Regions from separate parts of the Homo sapiens genome. Here region 1 is linked to region 2. Evidence: promoter capture Hi-C in human tissues and cell types (Jung and others, 2019). All regions are on one chromosome and are shown on one strand. The core of a region is centred on a gene start or on the middle of the fragment in contact, and the rest is flanking DNA. Distances in the headings are between cores, read along the strand shown.

Region 1 (5,451 bases), core at 308-2,807, 79 kb after region 2:
GGGCCATCTGGGCATATGGGGTATCTGGAAGTGCAGCCATTTTGGTACCCCAAAGTGACACATAAACACCATATTGAGCACCAAACCTTCAAGGGTGGCATTGAGGTTAGAAGAGATTTCAAGAAGCCTGGCAGCCAGATGTGAGGAATAGCACAACAGTGACCTGTGTGCATCAGTGCCTGGAGACCAGAACAAGGGCAATGGGAGTCTCAGAGGGCACCCAAATGAACAATGGCATCAAGAGCCAGATAGCTGCAAAGTTTAATTGCTCAGTGCTGTGTAAGCCCCCAGAAACACAGACACAACATCAGAAGAGATCAATGTTCTACCACATTGGTACCAATGGGTCTTAAACTAGAAATTAAGTGGAATCAGAACAAAGTCAAGGTTTATCACCGGCACACCTGAGTCATGTTTGAAGGGGCACTCAGGCTACCCACAGGCTTTGTGCTCAGCCTCACGGCACTGTCCAGCATAAGGTACATGTTTAGCAATGGTTTTTGAACTGTGGTTACTAAACTCGGGTTTTTTAATCTATCTGCATTTCAAAGTGCTTGGTTTGGATTTGGGGGTAAAAAATGTGGTCCTTGATATGCCAGTGCATTAAGGTCAAGCCTTCCCTGAAGAACATTCACATTTTTTTCTACATAGAAGTGGAATCTAGCTTGTTGGTTGTCTGAGAGACAAAATGTATTGCTTTGTACCATTTAAATGTTAAGAGGGTTTTCATGTTTTTCTGCAAAAAGCCTATTTACCCTGCACTGAGTTTCCCCGGCCTCACAGTATCACAGGTTAGGGAGTTCCCTTTCATTAAATGGTTCTTTAGACCATGAAATTTTCTTGTTTTGCTTTCTACCAAATTCCAAATTAATTCCAGTCCAAGGTTTAATAGATCAGATCCATGAGGTCATTGTAACTTCATATTTTATATTAAGCATGACTACTATTAATTGAGGGCCAGCTTTGTGATATGCATGCTCTATACATTGTCTCTAATCCTCCTAGATCTCCCAAGGTAAGTAGCATTTTTCCTAACAACAGAACTGAGGCTAAGTGAAATCACATAGGAAAGCTAGAACCTGAACATAAGTCTCCATGGTCTCAAAGCCTGAACTCACCACTACAGCATATAGCAATTGTACCCTCATTATCTGAGGTTTCAATTTTGCAATGTCCATATTTTGAGTTTTACATCATTTTCCTGCTCCTAATTGCCCAGAGTCATAGTGGACTGCGTACAAGCTTCATTTCTCCCTCCAAGGTTTTGCAGAGAAAAATTCTATTGTTTGGCCCAGGAGCCCCAGGTATCATTTAGGGTGTGGGAACAAAGTGAAATAGGTACTTCCTTTACAATGATGCCAGGCACCTCTCCTCCTTCCAGGTACAACACATCTCTGTGTCTTAGATCTTAGCTGCACCTGGGACAAAGGCTGTTCTCTGCAGAAAGAAGCTAAGAGATCAGAGTAGTTGAAGGTATTGCAGGTGTGCCCACTCCAACACTGGGGCATGCCCAGCTCCTTTGGAAAACTCATGTGAATAAGAGCCTCAGCAATTCAGGAAAGTGAAGCATGCTGAAAAGCAAGGGTCAAAGTAAAAAAGGTAAGAAAGAGTACTTTTTTTATTAAATATAATTCATTTAGCATCGAATTCACCCTTTTAACATGTACGATTCATTGGTTTTTAGAATATTCACTAAGTTGTGCAACCATCAGCACTATCTAACTCTAGAACATTCTCCTCACAACAAAAAGAAACCTCATGGCTGGGGGCGGTGGCTTATGCCTGTAGTCCCAGCACTTTGGGAGGCTGAGGCAGGTGGATCACTTGAGGTCAGGAGATCAATACCAGCCTAGCCAACTTGGTAAAGCCCTGTCTCTGCTAAAGACACAAAAATTAGCCAGGCGTGGGGGTGTGGACCTGTAGTCCCAGCTACTCATGAGGCTGAGGTGGGAGAATCGCTTGAACCCGGGAGGTGGAGGTTTCAGTGAGCCAAGATCGTGCCACTGCACTCCAGCCTAGGTGACAGTGAGACTCTGTCAGAAAGGAAGAAAGGAAGAGAAAGAGAGAGAGAGAGAGAGAGAAAGAAAGAAAGAAAGAAAGAAAGAAAGAAAGAAAGAAAGAAAGAAAGAAAGAAAGAAAGAAAGAAAGAAAGAGAAAGAAAGGAAGGAAGGAAGGAAGGAAGGAAGGAAGGAAGGAAGGAAGGAAGGAAGGAAGGAAGGAAGAAAGAAGAAAAGAAAAAACAACCTCATGCTCATTCGTGGTGAGTCTCTATGTTCCTTTTCCCCCAACTCCTGTGAACCATTAATCTACTTTCAGTCTTTAATGGAGTTGCTTATTCTAAACTTTGTATGTAAATAGAATCATGAACTATTTAGCCTTTTATGTCTGGTCATTTTCACTTGCCATAATATTTTCAGTGTTTACCTGTCTTGTAATGTGTGTCCATACTTTAGTCCTTTTTTGGCTAAACAATTGTATGGATATAGCACATTTTTAATCCATTCACTAATTGCTAGACATGTAGGGATTTTTTCCACTTTTTTACTATTATGAAAAATGCTACTAGGAAAATTTGTGTACAGGTTGTTATGTGGACATATTTCTTCAGTTCTTTTGGGCATATATCTAGGTGTGGAACTTCTGGATCATATGATAACTCTACGTCTATAACTTTTTGAAGAAATCCCAAACTGTTTTTCAAAATGACTGCACCATTTTATATTCCCACCAGCAAGGCATGAGGGCTTCCATTTCTCCATATCCTTGCCAACACTTGTCATTGTTCATCTTTTATATTATAAACACTCTAGTGGGTATAAAGTGGGTTTGGTTTTTATTTGCATTCCCTGGAAGACTAAAGCCAACACGCCCAGTGCATGACTTCTTTTGCAGGGAACTGTCCGTCACAGAGGTGCTGAAATCATCTGGGTTGAGGAGATGTGGCATGAGGCATCACAGCCTCTGCCTTCAAATGTTATGCCAGAATAAGACATCAGAGGAGTCTTGAAGGTACAGAAAGAATTTGCCAAGTCAGCCAGGCATGGCGGCTCACGCCTGTAATCCCAGCACTTCAGTAGGCTGAGGCGGGCAGATCACTTGAAGTCAGGAGTTTGAGACCAGCCTGGCCAACGTTGTAAAATCCCATCTCTACTAAAAATACAAAAATTAGCCAGGCATGATGGCATGTGACTGTAATACCAGCTACTCAGGAGGCTGAGGGACAAGAATCACTTGAACTCAGGAGGCAGAGGTTGCAGTGGGCTGAGATCACACCACTGCACTCCAGGCTGGGAGACAGAGTGAGACTCTGTCTCAAAAAAAAAAAAAAAAAAAAAAGAATTTACCAAGTAGATGAGAGATGAAGAAGAGCATTTCAGGCAGTGCAAACGGTATATGCAGAAATGTAAAGGCAGAACACAGAATGGCACATTTGACATGTTACATTAGTTCTGAAGGCTCGGTGTAGAATATGCAAAAGGAGAATAATAAGTGAGGAGGTTGAAGAGGTACACCAAGGCCAGATCACAGAGTGCCATGTATGCTATACTAAAATATTAGAGCTTTATGCCATAGGCAATGGGAAGCTACTAGAGACTTTTTAATCAGTGACATAAATGACAAGGCAAAGAGTTTAAAAAAAGAACTTTCTGTGTGAGGAATAACAGGGAGGGAGATAAGGAGATCAGTAAGGCTGAGGTGGGTGTTCAGGAGAGAAATAACCAAGGTCAAAGCTGAAAGACAAAATAAGGGACCTTTTCTAGGACATATTCCTAACCTGCTACAAAGGTTGGTGTCCTGCATTTCAGCAGGACCTGGGAGTTTTGTTATCTGTATATTGGTATTAATGTGATCTCAGTTGTATCTTCAGGCTGGGGAGGTCTGGGAGAATACTTAATGAAATGCTGATTGTTTTCAATAGGAAAATACACTTCAACTGGACTACAGTAACCAAGAACCTTTCTTCTGTGTTATTAAGACACAAAAGGCAAGATTTCAGCTCATACTCTTTTAACCAAGCCAGAATTAACTTTTTGTTATAACTGAAGAAGCAATAAACCTCAAGGCTTGGATAGTCCCTATCTGTTTGCATTTACTCTTCAATTTCCTGCCTGAATCACACCTCCACCTTCCCTTAAAGGTGAAAGCCTATGGCCAGGCATGGTGGCTCACACCTGTAATCCCAGCACTTTGGGAGGTCAAGGCGGGTGGGTCAAAGGTCAGGAGTTCGAGACCAGCTGACCAACATGGTGAAACCCCATCTCTACTAAAAATACAAAATTAGCTGGGCGTGGTGGCATGCACCTGTAATCCCAGCTACTCAGGAGGCTGAGGCAGGAAAATCGGTTGATTCCAGAAGGTAGAGGCTGCAGTGAGCCGAGATTGTACCATTGCACTCCAGCCTGGGCGACAGAGTGAGACTCTGTCTCAAAAAAAAAAAAAAAAAAAAGCCTATTAGAGAACCTGCAAAGTAAAAACAGAGAGGCAATAAGGGAGAAGCAAGGCATGAAGGACCCTCAGGGGTAGGGATGTAATGAATATCTGTCTACTTTGACTGCCCAATATCTTGAGACTACTTCCTTACTGTGAAAGCAAGTCTCGAACCAAAAGCAGAGAAGAAAAATTAACTTGCAAATAAGTTGCAAAGGAATCTAAGATTTGGGAGTTCCAGCTCATCAAGTAAAAACACAGCAAGTATTTAAAATAAAAAACCGCACAAGATAATCAAGATTTTCAAGTTTACAATTAGTTTCTTTGTAGTAAAATAAAAAAATAGCACCTTTCTCAGGTGATTATTATACCTCTAAAGGTTGTGACATATCTTCCCATATCAGCCTTACAAAAATCAATGATAAAAATGTCTTGTTAGGGAGTCAATAACCTATGTAAAATCCTCAAAGTTCCATTTATTTTGAGTGCTAAAACTAAACAGGGTTACCTGGTATATTGGTTTGTTTTCTGGTGCAATATGTTTGCTTGTTGGCCATGGAATATGATTTGCACACATATTTGTAATGGTGGCAAGGCAAAATTTTAGTTTTCACCTTTTGGTGGTTTCAGGCTGCATCGATGAAACTGCCTTTAAAAATTATGACAATAAGAGAAACCTGACATAACTGACTCCATCTTGATTCTAACCTCTAAGCTGCCCTTGTTCATTCCTGGGCATAGGCCAACCTAACTTTGGGAGGAATTTAGTCCATAGTTTCATCTTAAAGCAAAGATGACAATAGCCTTTCCCAAAACTACCCCCAACCTTGTTCAAGACTAAAACTGCCTTTGTTAAAAAAAAAAAAAAACTAACTAAAGGCCACAAGAATAGGATTATGAGAGGGGCCTGAATTCTGTCAAGATGTAGGCATAAATGATAACCAGCCATTGTTCTGGAGGTCACAAGATTTGTAACTTCTCCAATCACTCCTATAGATAATATCACTATTGTAGAACCTAAGA
Region 2 (5,251 bases), core at 1,891-4,390:
CATTTATTATAACTGATTCAAAACAGACACCCCCACATATGCCAACAACATACGGTAAACACTGACAGAGACTGTCATGTCCTACAATTGTTATTAATAAAGCCAATTCATTCATGCAAGATTCAGTTAAAACGTAATGCTGCATCTGTGCAACTCCCCCAGGAAAGTGGGAAGTAGTGTTTGGAGAAGACCAAATAAACACTCATGAGTGATGATGATACCTCTGAGGACACAGATTTTAAGTACTAGGTCCCAGCTGCTCTCTTTGAAGGATGCACACGACCAGAGAATGAAAGCAGGAAAAGGTGGTCAGTGCTCAGCACGTGCCAAGCACAGAGCAGGAAAAGACCTAGTAGATAATGAATGGTCCCTGCCTTATAGTCTAGCTTTACATGTATGACTCATGCCCTTGAAACCACAGACTGGATGTGACCCTGAGGGTAAGAGAAGTTCCCAAAAGGATTAAGAATGTGTTTTTTTCCAACCTAGAAGAATGGTGGCTTGGCATCAGAAATTAAGTCGTTCTGTTGAAAATAAACAGAAGTGGAAATGTATATTCAGGGCAACTTAAACTCATGCTCTTGACAAAATATTTTTTTAAAAAAAGCAAATAAACAAAAGTATTTCTCATGCCCCTCAGTTCATAGACAGAAACTCATACCAACAGGCTTTTTTTTTATTTTAGTAAGAACTGCCAAATGGTGAAACTATTCACAAACACTAGAAATGCATGAGAGTGTCCTCCCGATATTCTTACCTGAATTTTGCATCTTTTTATCTCTTGTCAATCTAGCTGGGAAAACGATATTAAAATCTCATTTTGACTGGCATTTCCCCAACTTCCTAGATGGCTTCACATCTTTTCATGTTTATTAACCATTTGCATCTTCTCTTCAGTAAATTATTATTTATATCCTTTGCCCAATTTTCTTAGGGGTAATTTATCTTTTTCTAGTTAATGTGAAAGTAGTCTTTGTATGTAAGAGATAGTAACTTTACCTATAGCAAATATTTTCATTCTGTTTTTCTTTTAACTTAGTTCAGGGTGTTTTTCCATACTAAATTTTGGATTGCTCATCTTGCTTAAGATCTTTCCACCCCAAGGATCCTAAGTTTTCTTCTATTTCCATATGCATATTTTTAATATTTCTCACACCTACACACACATACATAGTTACATGGAGAGATGGATCATTAATTCACCTAGAATGTGCGTGTGTGTGTGTGTGTGTGTGTGTGTGTGTGTGTGTAGGGATGAGAAGACTCAGTGTTTTCTGAGTTCATATGATCTACATGGGGAATCAGATCTAACATGGACCAAGTGTTAAACCATACTTCCAAGAACAACACTACATTAGTAGGCCACCTGCTAACTTCTGCCTTTCACATTTTCCAGCTTAAAACATCTCCATCCTCCCCATTATGTAAGAAAGAAGTACAGGTGTTTCTGACTGCTCCCTCTCCCATGATCCCATAACCCATCAGTTCTGAAGCTGCATTATCCAACCTTCTGAATCTCTCTGACCACCCTCCAAGTCTTCCAAGTCCCCATGGCCACTCCCTTGCTCCAGGCCACCATCATCTCACCCTGGGTCTTTGCAACACCCTCTGCCCCGGACTCCCTGGCCTACATGCTCAGTCTGTCTAATTCATTCTCCACCCTGCAACCAGGAATATTTCTAAAATGCAGACCCCATCTCATTCCTGCCCTACCTATGTTTCTTCCACAGTCCCCATTGCTGTCAAGGTACTGTCCAAATTCTCACATCTGGCTGAGGCTGTCCTTCAGGATTCAGGCACCTCTCAACTTTTTAAGAAACTGTGCAGCCTCATTTCTCAGATTGTGTCTCCTATTTCCATGCTCTGACCAGAGCAGACTACTTTCAGCACTTTCAAAAGCCCAAGATTCTTTTTCAGTGGAGCTCAACTGTGACTATGCCCCAGCTCACCTGTCAAAAATTGCAAACACACTTGTTCAGGTCTTACACCTGGGTGATTCTGACTCCGCGGGTCAAATGGGATCTCCACATCCACAATCTGTGATGACTTCTATGGCCAGGGTGCTCTCTGCCTCCAGGCTGCAGACGTGTGATTCCCTCTGCCTGGAGTCCTCTTCTACCTCCTCCAGCTCCAGCCCCCACCCCACCACCCACCCCAAACTGGATATGACCTCTTCCTCCTTGAAGTCAAAGCATAGGTGCTCCTTCCTCCAGGAACTTTGACAGTCCGGGTTAGGGCTCTTCCTCTTTGCATCCCTGGTTTCCTGGACTTTCCTGATTCAAGCATTTATTGATTCCTCTTCTTCCACCCCAGACTCTGAGTTCGGGGAAGCCTGAGATAGTGGCTGTTGTCTTGCTCACCACTGTATTTCCTGCACTCAGCAGAGACCTGACACATAGTAGGCGCTCAATAAATGTTTGCTAAACAACAACAACAAATGAATGAACTAACAAATAAACAAACAAATGAACAGATGAGTGGATGCCTGTGGCAGTTTCCATGACAAACACAAAGGGCTAAGCCAAGCCAGCAAGCAGACAGCCGTGCGGCCTGCAGAGGGCACTAGTCTGCTTCTTAATCTCCCTGCAGAATCCTCAGGGCCAGGTACCTGCTGTCAGTCAGAGAGGTGCCCGATGCTCAGTGGTCATTCTGCTGCGCTGAAGATTAAGTAGGAGTTGTTTGCCCTTGGCCAATATGAAAAACCTGAGTGTTCTCCCTTCACTTCTAGCGACAAGTAACACATCCCCTGTCTTGCCATGAAAAGAGCTGTAACTGTAGCAGCCGGTGGCAGGTTTTCTGTTCCCAGGTGGGGAAGTGAGGAGAGACAAACAGAGGGGTGAGAGGGAGACAGAAGGAAGACAGCTGGTAAGAGACCCTATGGTGTATTTTTTCTATGTAAACAAGATAAAAACTGCTCCTCCTGGAACAGCAAAGTTCTCCCTATGTCTCCAAGCTACAAACTTGCATGCTAGCTACTAACTAGCTACTCTCCCTCTCTCTCTCTCTTCCCCCTTCGCTCTTTCTCTCTGTGTGTATGTCTCTCTCTCTCTCTGTCTCTTCCTCCACCCTCTCTCACTATCTGTCTCTCTACCCTCCCCATCCTTTTATTCTAGAGGAGAATAAACTCTAAGGCCAGATTGAATGAGCATCCAAAAGACGTATCTGGAGGGAGATTTTGTCTTTCCTGTGAGCAGCAGCAGCTTCCTACGGACCCTGCTGGAGCCCCAGCTCGGATCAGCCCTTCTGACAGCAATGAATGCTTCGTGCTGCCTGCCCTCTGTTCAGCCAACACTGCCTAATGGCTCGGAGCACCTCCAAGCCCCTTTCTTCAGCAACCAGAGCAGCAGCGCCTTCTGTGAGCAGGTCTTCATCAAGCCCGAGGTTTTCCTGTCTCTGGGCATCGTCAGTCTGCTGGAAAACATCCTGGTTATCCTGGCCGTGGTCAGGAACGGCAACCTGCACTCCCCGATGTACTTCTTTCTCTGCAGCCTGGCGGTGGCCGACATGCTGGTAAGTGTGTCCAATGCCCTGGAGACCATCATGATCGCCATCGTCCACAGCGACTACCTGACCTTCGAGGACCAGTTTATCCAGCACATGGACAACATCTTCGACTCCATGATCTGCATCTCCCTGGTGGCCTCCATCTGCAACCTCCTGGCCATCGCCGTCGACAGGTACGTCACCATCTTTTACGCGCTCCGCTACCACAGCATCATGACCGTGAGGAAGGCCCTCACCTTGATCGTGGCCATCTGGGTCTGCTGCGGCGTCTGTGGCGTGGTGTTCATCGTCTACTCGGAGAGCAAAATGGTCATTGTGTGCCTCATCACCATGTTCTTCGCCATGATGCTCCTCATGGGCACCCTCTACGTGCACATGTTCCTCTTTGCGCGGCTGCACGTCAAGCGCATAGCAGCACTGCCACCTGCCGACGGGGTGGCCCCACAGCAACACTCATGCATGAAGGGGGCAGTCACCATCACCATTCTCCTGGGCGTGTTCATCTTCTGCTGGGCCCCCTTCTTCCTCCACCTGGTCCTCATCATCACCTGCCCCACCAACCCCTACTGCATCTGCTACACTGCCCACTTCAACACCTACCTGGTCCTCATCATGTGCAACTCCGTCATCGACCCACTCATCTACGCTTTCCGGAGCCTGGAATTGCGCAACACCTTTAGGGAGATTCTCTGTGGCTGCAACGGCATGAACTTGGGATAGGATGCAGGGCCATGGAAATGATCATCAGTCGGGTCACTTTTGACTTTCCATCCACGTGAGGTGTTTAGAAAGAAAAATATATATACTTAGAAAATATAAAAATGTGTTAACAGCCATGATTGTACTTGTCGTTTGTTTTTAAGTTTACAAAGCCTTTTAAAGGGGAAAATTGGTGAACAACAGATTCTCTGAAAGGATTCCAAGATGGGTAAGTCACAAACTCTGATTTCCCAAATAGTCACTGGGAGAAATCAGCGAAGGCTTCTCTGCATGCTCTCTGCACTCATTTCCAAACACCCAGGGTGTGCGACGCCTGTCTGCTCATCTGCTCCACACCCACGTCTTCATGCTCCAGGCCAGACCAGACTGAAGGATTCTCATGAACAATAAGGGTGGTTCAGATCTCTTGCAAGCAAACCTGTTACAGCTACGACCTCCTGCTGCCAGCTACACGGAGAGATAGCTTTGCACTTATAACTCCGTAGGAGACTGAGTTCTACTCTATTATTCTATTTACAGTTAGACAATTGTCTCTTTGTGAAAGGAGCAATGCTATGCCGTTTTCCCCTTTTCTTACCCCCATATCCCTTCAGTTGTCCCCACCCCCAAAGGTAGCATGAGGATGTAACCCACTTCTATTTTTCTGTTGTTGTGTTGGTGTGTGTTGTTGTTTTGTTTTTATGGATTAAATCTAAGACAACCTTCAAAACTCTAACGAAAGAGAGAAAGTGCTTTGGACAATCAGAATATACTTGTGTACGTGTATTTTGATACCTTGCTATTTTAAGGTATAGATTAATCTTTTTAAAATAACTTCTTTTTTTCTATCATTTACTTTTAGCCTTTAAAACAAGAAAGGAAATCATGGGTTGGGGTACATGTATATACGTGTGTGTGTGTGTGTGTGTGTGTGTGTGTGTGTGTGTGTATCACAAGAAATTGCTTTACTGTAGCTTAAGATAGTTTGAGAAACCGTAGAACCACTGTGTGACTTTCTTGGGAGCCCTTGTTTTTGCTTATAGTAATT

Evidence for each region. Contacts are between HindIII fragments. The study calls those that stand out against the background at their distance.
Region 1: a contact is called between a fragment that was not itself captured here and the fragment with the promoter of MC3R in region 2, in 2 of the 25 tissues and cell types used here (H1 embryonic stem cells and dorsolateral prefrontal cortex).

Annotation. Positions count from the first base shown.
Region 1 is chr20:56,326,159-56,331,609 of GRCh38, forward strand. No RefSeq gene overlaps it. Among named protein-coding and RNA genes, the nearest start is that of FAM210B, 30 kb to the right of the region's middle. The HindIII fragment of the contact is 4,501 bases long and covers 1-3,808 here.
Region 2 is chr20:56,245,592-56,250,842 of GRCh38, forward strand. MC3R (melanocortin 3 receptor) reads left to right here and starts at 3,141. Exons shown (of 1, transcript NM_019888.3): 1 at 3,141-4,224. The coding sequence starts at 3,253. The coding sequence ends at 4,224. RefSeq lists a silencer at 2,542-2,611. The HindIII fragment of the contact is 18,891 bases long and covers 1-5,251 here.